Linked DNA regions of Homo sapiens: regions 1, 3 and 4 are each linked to region 2. The links are contacts of gene promoters, found by promoter capture Hi-C in blood cells and fetal thymus (Javierre and others, 2016). All regions are on one chromosome and are shown on one strand. The core of a region is centred on a gene start or on the middle of the fragment in contact, and the rest is flanking DNA. Distances in the headings are between cores, read along the strand shown.

What was found. The method cuts DNA at HindIII sites, captures the fragments that hold promoters and counts their contacts. A CHiCAGO score of 5 or more calls a contact.
Region 1: a fragment that was not itself captured here is called in contact with the fragment with the promoter of SIRT3 in region 2 in 1 of 17 cell types (naive CD8 T cells); the score reaches 5.0 in naive CD8 T cells.
Region 3: a fragment that was not itself captured here is called in contact with the fragment with the promoter of SIRT3 in region 2 in 8 of 17 cell types (naive CD8 T cells, naive CD4 T cells, total CD4 T cells and 5 more); the score reaches 8.1 in naive CD8 T cells.
Region 4: a fragment that was not itself captured here is called in contact with the fragment with the promoter of SIRT3 in region 2 in 3 of 17 cell types (naive CD8 T cells, naive B cells and total CD8 T cells); the score reaches 5.6 in naive CD8 T cells.

The regions. Positions count from the first base shown.
Region 1 is chr11:437,250-440,618 of GRCh38, reverse strand. All of the region lies in intron 1 of ANO9 (anoctamin 9), which reads left to right. It overlaps LOC105376506 (a long non-coding RNA gene), which reads right to left. Exons shown (of 5, transcript XR_007062542.1): 3 at 1,868-3,369; 4 at 639-720; 5 at 1-134. It also overlaps the pseudogene RN7SL838P. Among named protein-coding and RNA genes, the nearest start is that of ANO9, 3.1 kb to the left of the region's middle. The HindIII fragment of the contact is 350 bases long and covers 1,319-1,668 here.
Region 2 is chr11:234,567-237,740 of GRCh38, reverse strand. SIRT3 (sirtuin 3) reads left to right here and starts at 1,399. Exons shown (of 7, transcript NM_012239.6): 1 at 1,399-1,693. The coding sequence starts at 1,413. It overlaps PSMD13 (proteasome 26S subunit, non-ATPase 13), which reads right to left and starts at 765. Exons shown (of 13, transcript NM_002817.4): 1 at 597-765. The coding sequence starts at 691. RefSeq lists enhancers at 514-753, 914-1,103 and a silencer at 1,254-1,333. The HindIII fragment of the contact is 9,250 bases long and covers 1-3,174 here.
Region 3 is chr11:453,913-457,353 of GRCh38, reverse strand. The region is part of intron 1 of PTDSS2 (phosphatidylserine synthase 2); the gene reads right to left. Among named protein-coding and RNA genes, the nearest start is that of PTDSS2, 5.4 kb to the right of the region's middle. RefSeq lists an enhancer at 1,706-2,427. The HindIII fragment of the contact is 6,661 bases long and covers 1-3,441 here.
Region 4 is chr11:386,266-389,819 of GRCh38, reverse strand. No RefSeq gene overlaps it. Among named protein-coding and RNA genes, the nearest start is that of PKP3, 6.2 kb to the left of the region's middle. The HindIII fragment of the contact is 235 bases long and covers 1,944-2,178 here.

The DNA.
Region 1 (3,369 bases), core at 244-2,743, 200 kb before region 2:
GTTCTGGGCTGTAGTGTGTTAGGCTGACTGGCTGTCCGCACATCAGTATGGTGACCTCCCAGGAGCAGGGGACCACCAAGTTGCCTAAGGAGGGGTGAACCGGTCCAGGTCGGAAACGGAGCAGGTCAAAACTCCTGTGGTGATCAAAAAGGACAGTTGCAGACATGGGGAGGACTTGCTAGTCCCAGCTCCAGGCTGGATCTGGGCGTGCCTTTCCTCTGCTCTAACCCCTTCCATGGCTCCCCACTGCCCCCTGCTGAAGTCCAAGCTCTCCATTTGGCCAAGAAGCCTAGCAGCCTCCCCTGATTGGCCTCTGCCAACCTCCAGCCTCCCCTTCTGGCAGCTCCCTTCTTGCCCTTTATGCTTCTGCAAAGCTGAAGTACCAAGGACTGAGTCCCTGGACTCAGTTTCCGTAGGTGCCGAGTGCTGAGTCACCAGGAGTAGTAGCTACCAAGTCCTCCTTGGAGGTGCTGAGTGCTGAGTCCCTGGGAGGTGCTGACTGCTGAGTCCCAGACACCAACTGCACCCTGATTCTCAGGGCGTGCCCACACATGTTCTTTCTCCCGGGAATGCTGCCCCCATTTTCTCACCTTTTGCCAACCTCTTGCCCTACAATGCCAAGCTCCATGCCTCCTCACCTGCCAAGTAGGCCCCCGCCCCTGCGTCCACGAACGCCACGCACTGCCTGGGAGGGCTGCACGCAGGTCGCTCCGTCAGTGTCTGGGGATGGACGGGCACACGGATGGGTGAACTGACAGATGACAGACTGGACAGCTGGAGGGGCCGGGGGGTGGGCAGAAGACTGGCTTCAGGAGCGCAGAGCCAGCTGGGGAGGGTTTGCTCAGAGGATGCGTGGGCTGGGCAGAGGCGAGACGCTGTGGCTCACAAGGTGGGCCTCTCCATGCTTGGGACTGCGGTGGGGCAGAAGGGGACCCTCTGTGGATGACGAAACTGTAAAGTTCTCAAGGGCCAGATCCCAGAGGGCTCAGGGCACCGGCCAAGAGGCTTGACGTGACCTCAGGAGGAGATGAGGCCCAAACACCTTCCCATGCACAGCTGGGGGGATGTGCGTCGTGGGACCCCCTGGCCAGGCCTGCTCCTTCTCATGCACAGCTGGGGGGATGTGCGTCATGGGACCCCCTGGCCAGGCCTCTCAGGAGTAGGGTGGGGTCATATCTGCACAACCATCTCCTCTGCCTGCCCCCAACCTGGAGGCTGGACTGGGAAGAGGATGGATGGGCAGGACCCCCAGCTCTGTCCTCACACTCCAGCCCTTGGGAGGGAGGGTCTCCTGCAGGCTACAGTGTCTCCAGAAGCTTCCTCACTGGGAACCAGGGGCTTGCCCACTGGACGCTGGCCTATGCCCACAATGGGGGTGCCAAGAGCCCCCCACAAACTCCCTGGGGCCCTGGAGTACTGGGTGTGTCACCTGTGAGGGCTGTGGGACAGGAAGGATGGGGGAGAACAGTGTGTGGTTCTGTCCACCTTCTTCCTGTGTCTGCACGTCGCTGAGGTGACCTGGGGGCTGGGGTGAGGACACCCTGTTGTACAGACGAGGAAACTGAGGCCTGGGGTGTTTCGGTGGCGTCAGAGCTAGGGCCTGGCCGGCTGTCCACCCAGAGCCGGCCTCCCTCTCTGGGTTTGCAGATGGCAAGGCTGGCTGAAGCTTCAGAGGCCCTCAGACTGAGTGTGTAGGGACAGCCCCTGTCCCTACCCTGGGAGCTGGAAGCCTGTGGGCCCATACATAGTTTCCCGGAGGTGGGGCCCATGGACTGGGGACATGGGGGTCCCAGACATCTCACTGTGGATAAACCGAACAGTCTGCATGGCTGGAAGTGGAGGTGACTTCAGGTGGTCCAGCCCTCACCTGTGAAGACCCCGAGGGTGGTGTGGAGAAGCCAGGCTCCCGTGGTCCGTAAACACTGGCCCTGGAGACGGATGGACAGATGGATGGCCTGGTCCTGTAGGCTGGTGGCTGTGGCCCGGGGGATGGGCCGGTGGGTGTGGCTCCGTAAACACTGGCCCTGGAGACGGATGGACAGATGGACGGCCCGGTCCTGGAGGCTGGTGGGCCCAGTGTTCTGCAGCAGAGTCTCGGAGCCTGAGGCCTGTCTGGCTGTGTGTGTTGGGGGGGCTACACCTGCCTGGCTGTGTGTGTCAGGGGGTGGCTACACCTGTCTGGCTGTGTGTGTCAGGGGGGCTACACCTATCTGGCTGTGTGAGTCGGGGGGGGGCTACACCTGTCTGGCTGTGTGTGTTGGGGGGACTCCACCTGTCTGGCTGTGTGTGTCGGCGGGGGCTACACCTGGCAGCCCTAGTGCTTCTGCCTTGTCCGAGGGAGCAGCTAAGGGCAGCCAGGGGCTGGCACGCCCCAGGTGTGCGTGTAGCTCTGCCCTGGGGGGAGGGCTCCCTGTCAGCCCACGTCAGTGATGGGGGCTTTGCACCCCATTCCCCAGGGGAGGCTGATCCTGCTGTTTGCAGAGGCGTGGGGTCATCACCCCAGTGCTGCACGGTGTCTTTGGTGGGGAGGGGGTTTCTGTGCCTCATTTCTGGGGTGAACGATGGCTTCCCACCCCCACCTTTGAGAATGTTCCCCAGGGACAGTCCCCTCTCCCAGGCTTCTCCGAAAGTCCTGCCTGGTCTGGGGTCCCTGCCTCGTCCCTTCCTTCTCAGGGGTCTGGGCTTATCCTGCCGGCTTTCAACTTTCGGCCCAGGCTGATGTGAGGGGGTCTCTAATTTCAGCCTCTGCCAGAGGAGCTGGGGTTCTGGGCAGAGGAGGGACCCTCATCCTGGGTCTGAAGCCAGGCATGTGAGGGGCCATTCTCCCATGAATCCCTCCAACACAACACTTCCCGGGCCCCTACGGAGGCAAGCTGCAGAGCTGGAGCCGTGATGCCCACGTCCCCCAGACCACCAGTCCCCCCCAGGGAGGCTGCCCTCTGCGCTGAGACAGAGGTGCCTCTCCTGCCTGGGCAGGTGCCACGCCCCTTCCTGCATATCTGTCGGAGGATGAAGGTTTCTCCTCTAACCCAGGACGGGGGAGAAGTTTCAGTGTGGCAGGCCACGCCTGAGTGCAGGTATCTGTCCGTGGGCTGTCGGGAAGGCCAAGGAGGGAGTCAGAGGAAGGGTTGATTGAGGCAGGAAGAACTACTGGTCTAGGATAGGACAGAAGGGCCAGGTGAGCCCCGTGGGCCAACTAGGGCAAGAACTTCCCCCCGCAGGGAGGCTGCAGTGTGGCACTGGGTGCTCAGATGGTGTCTACCTGAGCCCATCTCCCTGTGACCGGGGCGTCGGATGCCTTAGTGCAGTGCTCCCCAACCTTTTCAGCACCAGGGACCAGTTTCGCAGAAGACAATTTTCCCACAGCTG
Region 2 (3,174 bases), core at 150-2,649:
GAAAGCCCATGAGAAATACAATGGAAGGTAAAGACAATGGGACGGCGGAAGTGGTTGCACCCCGTGCAACCAGCTGCAGAATGAATAGGGAAAACAGCAAAGCTGTACTAGCCTCTGGTTTATCAACTCCAGACCATGAGAAAGATAACTGTAGATACAGTTACACTATGACAAGGCTAAGCACGAATCACCAACATGTTTCCCAAAGTGGGTGGTGGCCCTGAAAGTGTGTTTGCTTGTTAGATGGAATCAAGAGCTAAAATCAAAGGCTACTCCTGAACCGTTTTAGTAAGACCCGAGGTAGGAGTTCAGAAGCCTCAGTCTCAGTCCCCCGTTAAGGAAGCAGTGAATCTCAGACCGAAACATCCTGGCTACAGCTCTTGGCCCTCGTGGTCTGTCATCCCTCTTATTCCTCGACCCTGCCACTCAAGGTTCCTCAGCAAACCTTGCCGGCACAGCCGGTCGCTACACGTCCCCGTTTCCCCCCAACTTGGGTCTGGGCGCCCTCAGCCCATCAAGGGTCCGCTCCTCCGCCCGCCTGCCCCCTCCGTCTCCCTCTATCGCCGGGGCCCAGGGCCCGTCTGCTCGGCGCTCACTTCTTCGTGTAGAGCTCCTCCAGACGGTGCCACACAGCGGGCTGCCCGGGCCCGGAGTTCTGGCTCTGCTGTAGGAAGCCCGGTACGTCCTTCATGACAGCAGGAAGACCCCCGGCACAGAAGAACAACCGGGATGTCAGCACCGCGGGGATGGCTGCCGGAAATGCTCACTCACTTCCGGCGCCGAGCGGCGCGGGGCAGGCTGGGAGCGCCGTAGCAGGCCGGGGGCGGGCCCCGCTGGTTGCTCGGTTACAGCGCGTCTCTGCGCTCCGGACAAAACTCTCCGGCGTTTGCAGCCCACTTCCCGCGCACTTGGCTGTGCCATTGAGGCGTCAAAGAGTGTGGGCGCCTGTGGTCGAACCCGCTACGGACTAGCTTTGTGGTGTCAGCCTTTGTGACCCGGAATTGCTCCTGTCAAATGAGGATCTTCCCAGTAGTGTTTTGCGAGGATTAGGTGTAAATATAATGCCTGACCATAGTAAAAGCGCTCAGAAAGTATTAACTATCACCGCCATCCGGGTTGAAAAAGGTGTGAGCGCAGGGTACAGAAATGCTGGCTCCAGGTTTGACCTCCGGGGCGAGAGATGAGACACCAGACTAGGGAACTTCCTCTACTCGCCTCTACGTCTACCTGGGCGCGCCGGAGGCGTCGGCAAGGAGGCGGGGGCGGGGCGCGGAGGCGGGACCGGGGCGCCGGGGGCGGGGGCGGTAGGCGGAGGCGGGGCTGGGGCGCCGGGGGCGGGGGTGGGAGGCGGAGGCGGGGCCGGGGCGCCGGGGGCGGGGCGAGTCCGGAGGACTCCTTGGACTGCGCGGAACATGGCGTTCTGGGGTTGGCGCGCCGCGGCAGCCCTCCGGCTGTGGGGCCGGGTAGTTGAACGGGTCGAGGCCGGGGGAGGCGTGGGGCCGTTTCAGGCCTGCGGCTGTCGGCTGGTGCTTGGCGGCAGGGACGATGTGAGTGCGGGGCTGAGAGGCAGCCATGGGGCCCGCGGTGAGCCCTTGGACCCGGCGCGCCCCTTGCAGAGGCCTCCCAGACCCGAGGTGCCCAGGGCATTCCGGAGGCAGCCGAGGGCAGCAGCTCCCAGTTTCTTCTTTTCGAGGTATTTTGGGCAAGGACAAGCACTTCTTGCGTGTTCGTTGTCGACACCTCGCCCACTCTTTCTCACCTTGCCGTGTTTCCTTTGCGGCATGTCTGGGAGTTTACGTGCGTTCCAACACCGGGGCCTCCGTCTTTATGCTGATCTGTGGACGTCACTTATGGGGGTTTTGTCGTTTATTTCACCATTCCCTCATTGAAATACGTTCTAACCTTTAGTTATTGTGCATCATGCTGTGGTGAATAACCTTGTTGGCACCTCACTGTTTGCATAAATTCCTAGTACTGGGATTGCTAGGTCCAAAAGTATATGCATTTAACGCTTTAATGATCCCTCATAAATGTTGTGCGGTTAATACTCCCACTGGCATGTGATCGTACCCGTCTCCATAGTAATTGCATCTAAGAACTGAGGCTACATAGGAAAAAATCTTAAGGTCCATGGTTGTTAGGTATCAGATGCCCTATAATGGATGAATATTTAAGTAAATAATGGCACATTGACTTGCTGTCTGACACAACTGCTGAAAATGTTGGTGAAAAGTGAGTCTCGAAGTGGTAGCTCACACTTGTAATACCAGCACTTTCGGAGGCTGAGACGGGGATCGCTCGAGGCCAGGAGTTCAAGAGCAGCCTGGGCAACATAACGAGACCCCCATCTCTACCAAAAATTTAAAAATTAGCCGGGCATGGTGGCGCAAGCCTGTTGTCCCAGTTACTCCTGAGACTAAGGCAAGAGGATCCCTTGAGTCCAGGAGTTCAAGGCTGCAGTGAGCTATGATTGAGCCACTGCACTCCAGCCTGGGTGACAGAGCAAGACTCTTATCTACCTGTGGGAAAAAAAAAAGAAAAAAGTTTAATAGATCCTGAAGAGTTGGCCGGGCGCGGTAGCTCACGCCTGTAATCCCAGCACTTTGGGAGGATGAGACGGGTGGATAACGAGGTCAGGAGTTCGAGACCAGCTGGGCCAACATGGTGAAACCCCATTTCTACTGAAATTACAAAAATTAGCCGGGCGTGGTGGCGGGCGCCTGTAATCCTAGCTACTCAGGAGGCGGAGGCAGGAGAATCACTTGAACCCGGAAGGCAGAGGTTGCAGTGAGCCGAGATGGCACCATTGCACTCCAGCCCGGGCGAAAGAGCAAAAACTCCGTCTCAAAAAAAAACAAAGATCCCGAAGAGTCAGTCGTTCATCCAAGAAGCCCTGACTGAGCTCTTATTCTGTGCCAGACTCTGTTCTAGGTGCTATGGATGGAGCAGGGACCAGGACCTACAAACACGTGGAGCGCATTCTAATATCTGTGATACTCTGCAAAACTGTTAAAACAAATCCTTGCGGCCGGGCGCGGTGGCTCACGCCTGTAATTCCAGCACTTTGGAAGGCCGAGACGGGCGGATCACGAGGTCAGGAGATCGAGACCATCCTGGCTAACACAGTGAAACCCCGTCTTTACTAAAAATACAAGGAAATTAGCCAGGCGTGGT
Region 3 (3,441 bases), core at 480-2,979, 220 kb before region 2:
TGAGTTTGCATCCACGAAAAGCAGACTGGAGCGGAGACACGGGCCTTCCGGATGATGGAATGTTCTGGTGTGAGCGTGGTTGTGGCGGTGCATGGGCGTGTCACCTGCACGTGGGTGCTGCACTGAACGCACCCACACCTGGACTTAGCCGATTTCATGAAGAGCCAGGGTGGAGCTGCAGGACTGCAGGTGGAGGCTCCAGGCTGGAACTTTCTGTATTTTTTGTGCAGATGGGGTCTTGCCATGTGGGTCAGGTTGGATTTTTTTGTATTTTTTGTAGAGACGGGGTCTTGCCATGTTTTCCAGGCTGGTCTCAAACTCATGAACTCAAGGGATCTGCCCACCTTGGCCTCCCAAAGTGTTGGGATTACAGGCATGAAAGTGAATTCTTCTGCCATATTTTACAATACTAGGCATTTAAGACAACCAGAGGTAAATAAAAGTTTCATTGTGACTATCAACCACCTTTTTCTTTAGATACATTTGCATTTGAGTCCTAAGCCATGAGGAAACCGCAGGGAACCTCAGCCTTCCTGCTGAGCTCCACACCGTGGGGCCCTTCAGTACTGAGAGACCTGCCCACAATCACAGCAGAGAACCCACGTCAGAAGGCCCTCTTAGGCCCCCATTCCTAAGGGTGCCTGGATTCGGCGACCCAGAAACTCACCCTCTGCTGAACACTACACTTACAGAACGTGTCCTCCTGGAGACAGCCCTTGAGGGGAAACGGGCTGGGCTCAGCTGGGGCCCAGGAGTCCCCTTGTCCCTGGCCTGCCCCTCCATGAGGCCCACCCTTTCCTCCATACAGGTGACATCAGATTTCGGTGAGGAGAGTAAGATGACCCCGGTTAGGATAAGAAGAGTCAGGAGTGTTTGGGGGCAGGTACCGTGGCTCACACCTGTAATTCCAGAGCTTTGGGAGGCTGAGGCAGGAGGATCACTTGAGCCCAGGAGTTGGAGACCAGCTCGGGAAACATAGTGAGACCCTATTTCTACCAAAAAAAAAAAAAAATTAACTGGATGTGGTGGCGCATGTCTGGTCCCAGCTACTTGGGAAGAGGGAGGGTGAGGGGAGATTACTTCGGCCCAGGAGTCGGGGACCGCAGTAAGCTGAGATCACATCCCTGCACTCCAGCCTGGGTGACAGAGTGAGATTCTGTCTCAAAAAAAAAAAAAAAAAAAAGAATGAAAGAAAACAGAAAGAAAGAAAAACCAAAACAACAAGCAGGTTTAGATCGCAAAGCCAACGACGTGATGACAGCCAGGAGCGCGGTGGCTCTGGCTGTGTCCGTGCCCCGGGCCAGGGCACCTTCATGCCGTGTGCGTGGTGCCCGCAGGCAAGTCAGGGCCGGTAAGTGACACTGTGAAGGTCATGCAGCAAGGCGGGGGGTGGGGCCCGGAGCCTCCTGGACACTGGGCCATCACAGCCATTCCCTGAGCCCCCGCCCCAGCCACACCCGGGAGAAGACACAGCCTGCGTTCCTGAGCCTTCCTTCCAGTGGAGTGAGACCAATACAGGAGAGCTAAGAAACCCTACACGTTATAGAGAAAAACAAAAGAGGGATGGGAGTGGTTAGGGAGGTTAAAACAACTATTTTTGTTGCAAAGCCAGGTCCCAGTAAAACCACGCCAGGAGGGCTCGTGGCCTGGGAGGCATCTCCGGAGACCATAGCAAGAAGGGAGCGCGAGGAGCAAGCACTCTCGGGCTCAGCCTCCATCCCCAGCAGTTCTGAGAAACAGCAGGGACCTCTCCAAAGGGTGCACATGTCTGAAGTGACCTTTGGAGGAGCCAGGGACAGTCTCATCCTGGGGCTTCCTGACGAGGTCACCTTGTAGGAGGAACAAGGTCAAGGGGCTCCAGACACCCAGAACCCCGCCAAGGGCCCACAGCACAGACAGACAGGGTGTGGTGTGCACGGGAGCAGGACTCTGCCTGGCTGGAGTGCAGATGCCGGGACAGGAGCCTGCTGTGAGGGAGGCCTCCAGTGGGGAAGCTAACAGGGCCTCCACAGGACCCTGTCTTGGAACCACACGGCCACCCCACGTGAGGGGTTCTCACTCTGGGCAGTAATGTCTCTAAGAAAAGAGGGGTGAAGGAGCCCCAGCCTAAGGGAGGCTAACCGTGGAAGAGACAACAGCCCATCAACCTGCTCACATGCAGAATGGGAGACCCAGAAGCTAGATCAACGTGAGGACACCACTCAACCCTGTTCTGCAAGAGACCAGCAGGAAACCCCTCGTCATCTCCATGTGGGCTCAGGAAGAAGATGGAAACGACCAGGCCTCAGGGACACCCAGAATGCCACCACTCCACACACAGGCCCACTGGAGGAGGAGGCTGCACTCGGCCCCACCCTGACCCTCGGACGTGCCTGCAACCCAGTCAGCATCTCCCAGATACAGCACAGGCTCCCATTCACATGCAGAATCCCAGGAATAAACGCAAAGCTCAAGGGATGGGGTGAGCAGCCTGTGTCCCACCAGCACCAAGTTCCACAGCACACAAAGACAGGATCACACACTAACACAAGTTAAAATTGAAACTTGACTTCTTTTTTTCTTTTTGAGATGGAGTCTTGCTCTGTCACCCAGGCTGGAGGACACTGGCGCGATCTCTGCCTCCCAGGTTCAAGCGATTCTCCTGCCTCAGCCTCCCAAGCAGCTGGGATTACAGGCGCCCGCCACCACACCCAGCTAATTTTTGTATTTTTAGTAGAGACCGGGTTTCACCATATTGGCCAGGCTGGTCTTAAACTCCTGACCTCGTGATCCACCTGCCTCGGCCTCCCAAAGTGCTGGGATTACAGGCGTAAAACTTGACTCCTTTAATACGACTTTCCACGACAGAGACCTTCCTGTGGTTTCTAAAGTGGCCACCAACCCAACACTCACTCCTTGTGTAGCCCAGGGAAACGCTGATCATTGATCAACCCTAACCCAACACCATCTTTCCATTTCCCCAAAACACAGAGATTACCTGAAATATAAAGGTAACCCTTCGCCCCTTCAGGTAAATGTGCACACTGTCATTGAGGTGGCCACCGAGTGCCCAGCACCCTCCTGGCCCTGGGGAAGCAGAAATGGGAATGAAGAGGACCCAACAGGAAGGGAGGCAGAGGGTAAGGGACCCAGAGAAAGGGCACCAGGCACAGCAGCCCTGCAGGAGGACACATCTCAGAGCTGCTCAAATCCAACGCTCCTGGAAAGTAAGGTCCGTATTAGTGAGCTCCAGTCCTTGTCCTACACGCAGCACGACGTCTACACATCTTGGAAGTGACAGAGTGCCGCTCAAGATAGCATGAGACTCTCAAGGGAAGAATTCCGTGTCCCTCCCAGGACGCCAGGTCTGTTCAATGGCTCCTCCCACCCGCCTGCAGACTCTGCAGGACGGTGTATGTCCTGTGATCAGACACAGAACAGAGCTGTGATCAATCCTGGCAA
Region 4 (3,554 bases), core at 812-3,311, 150 kb before region 2:
ATCAATCATTATTATAAACATTATTAGTCATTAGCTTTTAATATTACTCTTTGTTCCATTACTATATAACCTAGGAATAAGCGGTGGGTATAGGGTCAGGTGCTGAAGGGACGTTGTGAGAAGTGACCTAGAAGGCAAGAGGTGAGCCCTCTGTCACGCCAACATAAGGGCCGCTTGAGGGCTCCTTGGTCAAGCGGTAACGCGAGTGCCTGGGAAGGCACCCGTTCCTTAGCCGACCGCGAAAGGGAGTCTCCTTTCCTTGGAGAGGTCGGGGAACACTCTGCTCCACCAGCTTCTTGTGGGAGGCTGGATATTCTCCAGGCCTGGCCCGCAGTCATCCGGAGGCCTAACCCCCTCCCTGTGGTGCTTGAATGATCACACTCCTTGTCCACTTTCATGCTCCTCCCGTACTCCTGGTTCCTCTTTGAAGTTCGTAGTAGATAGCGGTAGAAGAAATAGTGAAAGTCTTAAAGTCTTTGATCGTTCTTATAACTGCATAGAAGACAACACTGATGTATGCTGCCTTTCCTCTCTACTTCGGCTACCTAAGAGGGAAGGGTCACCGTAAGGTGACTTGCTTCACCTTATCACTTAGAAGATTCACCCTCCTTATCCTGCCCCCTTGTCTTGTATGCAATAAATATCAGCGCGCCCAGCCGTTCAGGGCACTACTGGTCTCCGCGTCTTGATGGTAGTGGTCCCCCAGGCCCAGCTGCTTTCTCTTTATCTCTTTGTCTTGTGCCTTTATTTATTACAATCTCTGGTCTCCGCACATGGGGAGAACACCCACTAAGCCCCGTAGGGCTGGACCCTACAGTCCCCAAGGCAAACTGGACAGGGTCAAGGTGGCCTCCCTGCACTGTCTGGAAAGCCCCTCCTGAAGGACCCTCCTCCCTGCACTGTCTGGAAAGCCCCTCCTGAAGGACCCTCCTCCCAGGACTGTCTGGAAAGCCTCCTGAAGGACCCTCCTCCCTGCACTGTGTGGAAACCCTCCTGAAGGACCCTCCTCCCTGCACTGTGTGGAAACCCTCCTGAAGGACCCTCCTCCCTGCACTGTGTGGAAACCCTCATGAAGGACCCTCCTCCCTGCACTGTCTGGAAACCCTCCTGTGGGGCCCTAGCCCAACACATTTGCAGCAGTCACAGGTGTATCTAGGGATCCTGGGGTCCATGAGCCCACAGGGCAGCTGTTAAGAGCCTTTGCCTTCTTCCTATATCTCCTCTCTCTTTTCTGGACTTCCTCCCGGTTCCCACTGGAAAAAACTGAGGTGGCCCCTCCCAGGATGCCCCCAAAGTACCATCTGGTCCCACAGCCCATTCCCGCATCCTCCTTCTGACATCAGGGGCCGCCTGTGCAATGAACTCATCTCCTCATCCCCTAGGACCAGCCGTTCATTGACTGAGTCAGGAGACAGAGAGGCACACTTCACCAAGGCCCCTGCCATCCCCCAGGAAGGCAGTGGGGCCAATCCCTGCTCTACCATGGACAGCCTGGTGCAATCAAGAGGCCCAGCCCCTTTCTCTCATAAGCCCTCCAGCCAAGTGCAATGAGAAGCCCAGTCCCATTCCCTCACAAGCCCTCCAGTATCACATCTGAAAGTGTTTCATCCTCCATTCTCCCATTTTATCACTGGGGTCCCATTTAGGGTCCTCCAATGGTACTGCTATTCATCCAATTGGATAAAGCTTCTCTTCTTCCCTGGCCCTATATAAGATATACAGCTCATCCCCCAAATTCTCTGCCGCTTGCGGGGTGGCCTGCTTTTCAGCAGTCAGGGTTTGATTCAGAAGTAACATGATATCCTTCCAGGAGAGCTCAAATACTTGGGTTAAGTTCTGGAAAGCCTCCATGTATCTGTCAGGGCCATCTGAAAACTTGCCAAGATCCCCCTTAATTTGACTCAGAATGGCCTAAAATGAGGATTTCTAGGCTGGGGAAAGCTTGAGAGAGAACCTGAGTAGGGAGGAGTGAAGGGTTTGATTCCTCCACTGGAGGTGCCTCTGGGGTTTGCTTCTCTATTTCCCTGGGATTGCCTCTTGCAGCCTCTCCTGAGATGGCCACCAGGAGGGCTGGATCAATCCTACAGTAGAGGCAAAGGTCCAAGTTACCCTGCAAGGCAAAGAAAGCCTGCACACACGAGGCCTGGGATCACTGGCCCTCACATTTACAGAAAAGCTTCCTCCCAAGACCATGCTTCCCTTCTGTGTCTTACACTTACAGAAAAGCTTCCTTCCTGAGACCATGCTTCTCTTCTGGGTCTCACGTTTACAGAAAAGCTTCCTTCCTGAGACCATGCTTCTTTTCTGGGTCTCAAGGTGCTTGGCACCAAGTTGGCGGCCAAGGAAATAACAAGAACATTTTTGCCACAAATTTACATACAGATACCAAGGCACACTTTACTTCGTCTGTGCTATTCTTAACCTTCCATTTTATAGTTTTGATGACTCAGTCAAATGCTCATTCTACCCAGTAATATTTCTGGTTTGCAACAACATCCTTAACATTTAACATTGTACATAAAGAAGAGATAGGAACCATGACAGCCACAAAAGAAAGACAGAAAAGAATGATAGGAAAGAGTGGAGGTCTTTGTGCCAACACCCTCATGGGAGGCTGGGGACTGGAGTCAGTCCAGGGGCCTTTGGATAACTCCAAGGGGTAACCTCAGCCAAATACCCCCAGTTGCTCTAGGACCTCCTTCTGGTCCCACGTGACAGCTAGACCTCCATGAAGGAAAACTGGGTTGGAACAAAGCCAACATTCCCAATACCTGAGGGTGATGGGGGCTTGACAGTGTCCTCCCCAGCAAGCCTGGCCTCCATGTGTTGAGTCTGGTGCTTGGAGACTAGTCGTCACTTTTAACTAATTGACAGAGGCCTGGTATTTTTCTTTCATTTTAGCTGTTGAGTTTAAGGACCACGAAGAAAGGACAGAAAGAGAAGATCCACTTTTACTTACCCTTGTGCAGATCCCAGACGAGCCCCCAAACATGTTGTGGGATATTTGGGGTGTTGCTTTTCTGGCCAGAAACCTCTGTGGCCAGGAGCACCTTTGCCTGAGTTCTTGTCCTGTGTCCAGGAAGAATGAGGTACACAGACAAGTGGAGGGTGAGCAAGACGAAGAGGAGCTTTATTAAGTGTCAGAACGGCTCAGAGGCTCTCAGCAGAGAGGAGGCTGGGAGTGAGTGGCTCCTCTCTGCAGGAAGGTCGTCCCAACGAGTGTTCAGCTCTCAGCAGAGAGGGCAGCTCCTCTCTGCAGTTGGTCGACCCAATGCCTGCAGCTATCAGCAGAGAGGGTAACTCCTCTCTGCAGTTGGTTGACCCAAGGCCTGCAATGCTCAGCAAAGAGGAGGCCCTAGTGAGGGTAGCTCCTTTCTGCAGCTGGTCATCCCGTCGTCTCTCTGTCCTCTTCTCCACTCTGGCTGAACCCAGGGCTTTTATGGGCCTCAGAGGGGAGGAAATTCATGCCAACTGGTGCATGGGCAGCCATGGGTGGGCCCGGAAAAGGCACCACAAGTCCCCACTGTGGTCCTCAGGACTGTCAGCCTGGCCCC